Regions from separate parts of the Homo sapiens genome. Here region 1 is linked to region 2. Evidence: promoter capture Hi-C in human tissues and cell types (Jung and others, 2019). All regions are on one chromosome and are shown on one strand. Each heading gives the region's core, a stretch centred on a gene start or on the middle of the fragment in contact. The rest is flanking DNA. Distances are from core to core; before and after follow the strand shown.

Region 1 (4,334 bases), core at 161-2,660, 150 kb after region 2:
GAAATGAGAACATGAGTTTTAGTGTAAAAAAGATTTGGGGCTGAATTCATTTACCATTTTATAATTGTGAACTTGGGGAAATTACCTTGTTTTTGAAGCTTGGCTTTCTTGTAAGTTCAATGAGGATACTAATACCTACTCAGTAGGATTTTAAGATAATTAAACAAAAGTATATGTGTAGAAAGAACAATGTCACTTTAAAAGAATTCAATGAATAAAGATAATTATTGTTATTATCATAGTATCTTGTTCATATACGATGCTCATCATTTGATAAACTTCATTACACAATTAAATGCATTACCAATACCTGGGAATTCAGGATTCCCAAATGATCATCTGAGAGGTCACATAACAGAAAATTCTCATGTAGACCAACTAATTCAATACTGTGAGAATTAAATGAGTTGATATAAGCACATGCCCAAAATCAGCTTTTTATGGTGCTTAATGAGTATGTCCTTTAAATAGTACTTTGTTAAACACATAGTTGCTTAAATATTTCTTGTTCTAAATAAACATTTTGTTCTATTGTTAAAATTATTGGTCTGCTTTCAGTTACAATAGCGTGGGTCTTACAACTCTTATCTGTTTACAAGGAAGGCAAATTTTCTAAAAAATTGTTCTAACTTGGTGCCAGATAAGTGAACTATGTTTATGTCTATGTATTGAAAACAAAACAATAAAAATAAAATAGAAAAATTATTGAACATAACTTTGACGAAAATAGAACTTTAAAAGAATTGTAGTTCGTACATTTTTCTGACTTCTACATCAACTAATACTGTATTTGAGTTTTCTAATACGGAAAAGCTATCTTGAATATACCTAAGATGGATCTAGACCAAATGCTTCAATGTAGACCAAAAGTGAGGCTCAGTTCATTTTGAAGGTGCCAGATGAAAAAAAATAGATTTCTTTTTAGTGTTCTTCCTACCTTGGGAGTTTTGAGATATTTTCTAGAATGCTATTTCTAGTAAATACAAGGGAAAGACCTTGGTGCACTTTGATAGTGCCATGCTAGTCACAGTTCTGAACTAAAAACTTAGATATGGCATCATGCCAGGACCACCTTGAAATATATGACAAATGCATTAGCTTGGAGCAAGAGAGATTCATATATCTTAATTTTCTAATATTTTAAAACTCTGGTGTGGCATGGAAAATAAATGATTTCATAGCAATCCTGAGAATTTTTCATTTTACCTGGGTCACATTTGTAATAGTTGCCAAAGAAGAAAAAAAGTCTTTATAATATGTGTGTACATGCGGTTATGGCTTTAATTTCCAACCTTTGGATGACTATTACAATTCTGGTTAGGCTACAGCAAAGTAGCAGAATCATCATGGAGAGGATATCCCACTCTACACTTTGGGGGGTGTCATAAGGCAGGTGAGGGACCTGGAAAATGCCATGGTTCTTGTTATGGGGGAGCCTGTGTCATAAAATGACAGTGAGAGCCACAACAGGAATCCCATGTGAGTACAGCTAATATAGAATTTGTCTACTTGTGGCAATGGCTTCCTTTAGTAAGGTCAAATTCACAGAAAAGAAAAGCAAATGTGAATCTTGCATCTTTGTTATAAGTGTTATAGCTAGTTAGCTGTGCTCCTTTAGGCAAGTCACTTTAAGTATTCATGACTGCTCTACCAAGGGCGGGGGCATAATATAGTTAGAAGGACGTTGAAAAACATAAAGTGCCACATAAACCTAAGTTATTGCCATTTATAATTTAATTCATTTTTAGAAACTTTTAAATGTCAAAGATATTTACATGTTTAATTTTCTTCTAACATAGTGTTGAGAATACCATTTCCAAGGTAGAGGCAGAAGAGAGTTTCCTTTCTGATCCTAGAAATCTTTTTCATGAATTGCTAATGGAGATGCTATCAGAGAGGCTGTATGACTGGTTCCAAAGTTTTTTTGTTTTGTTTTGTTTTTCAACTTTTATTTTAAGTTCTGGGGTACATGTGCAGAATATACAGGTTTGTTACATAGGTAAACGTGTGGGTCCAGGCATTGGGTAAATACACCCCATTCCTTGTGGGAGAAATTGGCCAAAACAAAGGGACTACAGGCCCCATGTGAGTTAGAAATCCAGCAGGGCAGTCAAATCTTAAAGCTCCAAAATGATCTCCTTTGACCCCAGGTCTCACATCCAGGTCATACTGATACAAAAAGTGGGCTCCCATGGTCTTGAGCAGCTCCACCACTGTGGCTTTGCGGGGTACAGCCCGCCTCATGGCTGCTTTAATGGGCTGGTTGGTATTGGGTGCTTGTGGCTTTTCCAGATGCACACTGCAAGCTGTTGGTGGATCTGCCATTCTAGGGTCTAGAGGATGGTGGCCCTCTTCTCACAGCTCCATTAGGCAGTCCCCATTAGGGCACTTCTCACAGCTCCATTAGGCAGTGGGGACTCTGTGGGGGCTCCAGCCCCACATTTCCCTTCTTCATGGGCATAGCGGAGATTCTCCTTGAGGGCTCTGCCCCTGCAGTAAGCTTTTGCCTGGACATTCAGGCCTTTCCATACATCCTCTGAAATCTAGGTGGAGGTTCCCACACCTCAGTTCTTGACTTCTGTGCACCAAAAGGCCCAACACCACATGGAAGCTACCAAGGCTTGGGGCTTTTAACTTCTGAAGCAATAGTCTGAGCTATATGTTGGCTCCTTTTAGCCATGGCTAGAGCAGCTGGGATGCAGTCTTGAGGGTGCACAGAGCAGGGAGTCCTTGACCCCGCCAGAAAATCATTTTTTCCTCCTAGACCTCCAGACCTGTAATGGGAGGGGCTGCCATGAAAGTCTGTGACATGCCTTGGGGACATTTTTCCCATTGTCTTGGTGATTAACATTTGACTCCTTATTTATGCAAATTTCTGCAGCCAGCTTGAATTTCTCTCCAGAAAAATGGTTTTTCTTTTCTATCACATCATCAGGCTGCAAATTTTCCAAACTTTTGTCCTCTGCTTCCTCTTGAATGCTTTGTCATTTAGAAATTTCTTCCACCAGATACCCTAAATCATCTCTCTCAAGTTCAAAGTTCCAAAGATCTCTAGGGCAGGGGCAGAATGCTGCCAGTCTCTGCATAACAAGAGTGACATTTAGTCCAGTTCCCAACAAGTTCCAACTGAGACCACCTCAGCCTGGACTTTATTGTTCATATCACTATCAGCATTTTGGTCAAAGCCATTAAGCAAATCTCTGGGAAGTTCCAAACTTTCACATTTTCCTGTCTTCTTCTGAGCCTTCCAAACTGTTTCAATCTCTGCTTGTTACCCAGTTCCAAAATCACTTTCACATTTTCAGGTATCTTTACAGCAGCTCCCCACTACTTGCTACCAATTTATGTATAAGTCCACTCACATGCTGCTAATAAAAACACATCTGAGACTGGGTAATTTATAAAATAAATAAGTTTAATTGACTCATAGCTCAGCATGGCTGGGGAGTCCTCAGGAAACTTTCAATCATGGTGGAAGGGGTAGCAAACACATCCTTCTTCATATGATGCAAGAAGGAGAAGTGCTGAGCAAAAGGGGTAAAAGCTCCTTATAAAACCATCAGATCTCGTGGGAACTCACTCAGTATCATGAGAGCACCAGGATGAGGGTAACTGCTCCTATGACTCAGTTACCTCCCACTTGGTTCCTCCTGTGACATGTTGGCATTATGTGTACTACAATTCAAGACAAGATTTGGGTGGGGACTCAGCAAAACCATATCACCAGACATATTATTTCTGAGGAATTATTTGACAAGCAATTATTTGCATTCAAAGGAGACAGGCAGTTGATGATGCTGATATATTTTGCTGAAGCTTGGATAACTGAGAGAATGAATGGTGAAGGCGTTTGCAGAATGGCATTTCTCCTAGGTGAAGCCTAGAAGACAGAGGTTGAAAATAATGAGTGTTTCAGAGACCTCGGGTATTATACTGAAAATAGATGATTTAAATAAAGATGTATATATTAAACATTGACACTTTGTTATTTTCTCCTACTTTGCTCTAAGTATGATGAACCCAGCACCACAACTTTCAATCCAGGGAACAATTGAGAATTAATTTTTTTTTATTATTATTGAGACAAAGTCTCACTCTATTGCCAGACTGGAACACAGTGGCACATCACGGCTCACTGTAACCTTAAACTCCTGGGCTCGTGTGTTACTCCTGCCTCAGTCCCTCAAGTAGCTGGGAGTACAGGAATGTACCATCACAACTGGCTGTGTTTTATTTTTTGTAGAGACAGAGTTTCACTGTGTTGCCCAGGCTGATCTCAAACTCCTGACCTCAAGTGATATTACCTCAGCCTTCTAAAGTGTGGGATTACAGAT
Region 2 (4,301 bases), core at 1,249-3,748:
AGAAAAGAAAAAAGAGAAGTGTAGATTTTTTGGGGGCAGGAACAAACAGTTTGTCTCATTTGCCCTTAATTATTTCACAATTTTAAAATTTATCTTATAGTTGCATACAAATACTAAAGGATGGAGATCAATAAAGCATAACCTGAAGCTGCTATAATATGAATTAAGATGCGTTTTTAGCTGCAAGCATTTAATTTACATTTAAATATACTAGGATTTAGAGTGTTAAGTAATTGAAACTAAAAAGTCCGGTCAATAGTTTTAATCCAAGTCACCTATAAGTTACATTACTACTCTTCATTATAAGAATTGTACAACTGAAAATTCATACTGTTATAAAAATGCCAGGGTTTTGGTCTAGGTCCTGCAGCTCACCACCCTGAAAGCCAATCACTGAGACAATGAGAATTTCCAGGGAAGAAGGCTTTATTTGGGTGCTACAGCTGAGGAGAATGGGAGATGAGCCTTAAATTAGTCACCTCAACCAACTAAAACTAAGGGTTTGTATAGCAGGGAAGAAATGTAACTATGTGTGGGAAAACAGGAATTAGGGAGGGGTAAAGAAGAGGAGTTGGTCAACAGGAAGCAGGTGGTCACTTATGCGATCATGATAGGTGAGGAGTCTTTCATCTTATTGTCCAGATGTGGTGATCTCGTAAGTTTCCTTTCCTTGATACTGTCTGGAAGGCCTGATGTGTGGTTTCCTGAGAAAGGAACCCAGATAAGACAAATGTAACTTTCTCAAGTTTTAAGATGGGAGTCTCAATTTTTATGTTTATTCAAAAGAAACCATAAACAGCAGTTCTATGAGTAATTAGGCTGGTTCCATACCATATTTTTATTTATATTTAGTTATTTATTTAATTTTTTTATTTCCATAGATTTTTGGTGAACAGGTGCATACTGTATTTTTATTTTATTTATTTATTTATTTATTTATTTTTTGAGAAAAGCCAGCATAAAGCACTTTTATTGCAATAATAAAACTTGAGACTCATATATGGTGCTAGGGGAAGGGGGCAGCAACGATTCCTCTCACCAAATCACTACACAGGACAGCAAAGGGGTGAGAAGTGGCTGAGGGAGGAAAAGCCAGGAAACTCTGAGATCAGCAGAGGGAGCCAAGCATCAAAAAACAGGAGATGCTGAAGCTGGGATGACCAGCATCATTTTCTTAAGAGAACATTCAAGGATTTGTCATGATGGCTGGGCTTTCACTGGGTGTTAAGTCTACAAACAGCACCTTCAATTGAAACTGTCAATTAAAGTTCTTAAGATTTAGGAAGTGGTGGAGCTTGGAAAGTTATGAGATTACAAAATTCCTGAAAGTCCGTTAGAAAAACCACAGGATGAAAAAAAAAAAAAAAAAAATAAGGCCACAAAGAAGGCTTCAGAGGTCCCTGCTGGCCCAGGGACAGATACCTGTAGTGTCCAGCATCGCAGTGAACATGACCTGCTTTCAAAGGCAGAGGGTTTAAGGGGAGGGTGGGGTGGGAATGGTGGAGGCAAAGCCTCTCCCCATCCCCACCTCAGTTTTAGGTAGGGCTTTTAATTTAACCCAAGGACATCTCTCAACTTGGAGAATAATTCAGTCCTCAACAGTGCCTCAAATCTGCTATGGTTTTGCAGCGCAGCAGCAAGAATGTTTAATATATAATAGATAAAAATTTCATCCAAAAAATTAAAATAAAATATTCTTGCAACCCCCTCAACACCAATTCCTATCCTAACGTTAACTTATCACTTGTGCTGTTAACACTTGACCATGTACTTAATTGGAAACCTATATTCAAAAGACTGAAACTGAATCTTCACCCCAAAATGAAAAAGTAAAATGAATAACTTGACGTTTATGGCATATAGTTTAGGTAAACGCACATACCAGGAGAAAGGGGAAGAGGAAACAGAGGTGTCGGAAGCAAAGCTGAGTGACAGAACACATTCAGTTGGGGCAGATGTCTATACAAAGTGGAGTGGAACATCAGGAAAAGCTCCATATGGATTTATGTGCACACGTCTGGAGGCACCAGATCCCTCCATGGCAGATCCAAGAACAGGGAGCTAAGGGAGGAGGCCATTCCTGTCATTCCAGTTTTAGAAGCTCCACATCGAAGACGAGAGTGGCATGTGGTGGGATGATGCCTGGGTGCCCAGTGGCACCATAGGCATAATCTGGAGATATAGTCAGTTTGGCTCTCTGACCCACACTCATCTGGACAACCCCTTCTTCCCAGCCTCGGATCACCTCCTGCTTGCCTAGCATAAACTTAAAGGGCTTGTTTCTGTCCCGGGAGGAATCAAATTTCTTTCCATCTTCAAGCATCCCGGTGTAGTGCATCACGCAGGTCTGGCTGCGCTTCGGGAAGGTGCGCCAGTCTCCTGGGGAGATGGTTTCCACGTGCACTCCCATGGCGGCGGCCGACGCCGAGCGGGCGGGCAGCGCGACGGGCGGCGTGGACCGACAGCGACCTGGCGGCGGTTCCACGGCTCTGCCTAGTCCCTCAGCGCGTTGCCTGCCCATACTGTATTTTTAAAATCTACAAATTCTATATTAGTGCCTTCTGGGCAAGTGTGTTGAATGAGTCACTTAAAAATCTCTAAATAGGTTTTTTTTTTTTTTTCCCGTACTGGAAGTGTTACCATTTCCTTGTTAACTTTGTTAACTTTGTGTTTGGTCTCCCATTATCTGTGGCGGCTACGTTCCAAGATCCCCAGTGGGTGCCTGAAACCACAGAACCACAGATAGTACAGAACCCTATATATACTATATTTTTTCCTGTACATACATACCTATGATAAAATTTAATTTATAAATTAGGCACAGCAAGAGACTAAAAACAATGACTAATAATAAAATAGAACAGTTATAACAATATAAAAGCATCATTACTCTTGCACTTTGAGGCCATTATGAAGTAAAATAAGGGGTACATATTAAACACAAGCTCTGAGCTACCTTACAATTGATCTGATAACCAAGACAGCTACTGAGTGACTAACAGACAGGGAGGGTATACAGTGTGGAGATGGTGGACAATGGGATAATTCACGTCTCAGTCAGGTGAGAGTGGAACGGGATGGCTCGAGATTTCTTCACACTACTCAGAATGGTGTGCAATTTAAAACTTATGAATTGTTTATTTCTGAAGCTTTCAATTTAATATTTGCAGACCACTATTGACCATGGGTAACTGAAACTGCAGAAAGCAAAACTGTGGATAAGGGATACTATTGTATATATCTGGAGTTTGATTTAAAGGTCTAAAACAGATCTCTAAAACTTTTGCTCAAATGAATTAACTGTTGTCCATCTAAATAGTATGCTACGATTAGCGTAGCCACTATTGTCAGGTTTCTGCCAGAAGTATCAGTGTAGAGAGATATTTTAAAGAAAAAAGGAAGGATGTATATATTTGAAAGTTGTCCAGTACTTTGCATATAAACTCACAGTTATATTTTTCTTTCTGTGTGTTCTATTATGTTCATGTTAACTTAGAAAGAAATATGCTTTGAGTCTGGTTTACAAAGAACGATATAGATTCAGTAGTCTAAACTTAATGATTTACATACAGCTTTTTTAGTGATAGAAAACACTAGGTAAGTTAAGAAAGTTTAAGAGAAGCTGCTATTGTTCTTGAAAGCATGTATATTTAACTCTTTCTATGTGAAAAGAATGTTTTTGCATTCTTTGTTGCTGTAGATGTTATGTGTATATACCTTTTACTTTTGTAATTTTTAAAAAACAGTGGAATTATAAATTTCTTATCAACTTGTCTTTAGGTTAAATACATTTAGTGTAGCCTCTGCTTGCCATTAGGGCTAAGAACCTAACTACATTTGAAATAGAACCATAGTCGACTTACACTGCAAAAATTTTTTATTAGAATTCTTCTGATAATACTTCACACATTTCATAGCCATCTATATGCTAATATTTCCAACAAATTATCAGATGCTATTTCTACATAACCCTTTTCTCAACAAATGACCTGTCATGTTCATAATGGCCTCATTTTTTGGTGGCAGTTTTAATTTTATCTAGCAAAAAATTGAAAGCTCACAAAGAAACTAATTATATAGTTTCACAGTTAATAATATGGTTTCTAGTTTTAAGACTTGTAATGTGCAAATTTATCTAGTTAAGTTTTCTAAGAGTCGAGGCTGCTGTTTCTTCTTTTAAAATCATTTACAAACCCTTTTTGAAGGAAAGTAGAAATTTTCATACTGTGGTCTTACAAGGATTGAGTGCTGATTTTACATTGTAGTTATTGATTATTTTGTAAGCATAAACTCATGTACAT

What was found. Contacts are between HindIII fragments. The study calls those that stand out against the background at their distance.
Region 1: a fragment that was not itself captured here is called in contact with the fragment with the promoter of FKBP1C in region 2 in 5 of the 25 tissues and cell types used here (H1 embryonic stem cells, aorta, hippocampus and 2 more).

What each region holds. Positions count from the first base shown.
Region 1 is chr6:63,061,375-63,065,708 of GRCh38, reverse strand. No RefSeq gene overlaps it. Among named protein-coding and RNA genes, the nearest start is that of FKBP1C, 150 kb to the left of the region's middle. The HindIII fragment of the contact is 5,493 bases long and covers 1-4,156 here.
Region 2 is chr6:63,209,666-63,213,966 of GRCh38, reverse strand. FKBP1C (FKBP prolyl isomerase family member 1C) reads right to left here and starts at 2,498. Exons shown (of 1, transcript NM_001395980.1): 1 at 940-2,498. The coding sequence starts at 2,410. The coding sequence ends at 2,084. The HindIII fragment of the contact is 10,095 bases long and covers 1-4,301 here.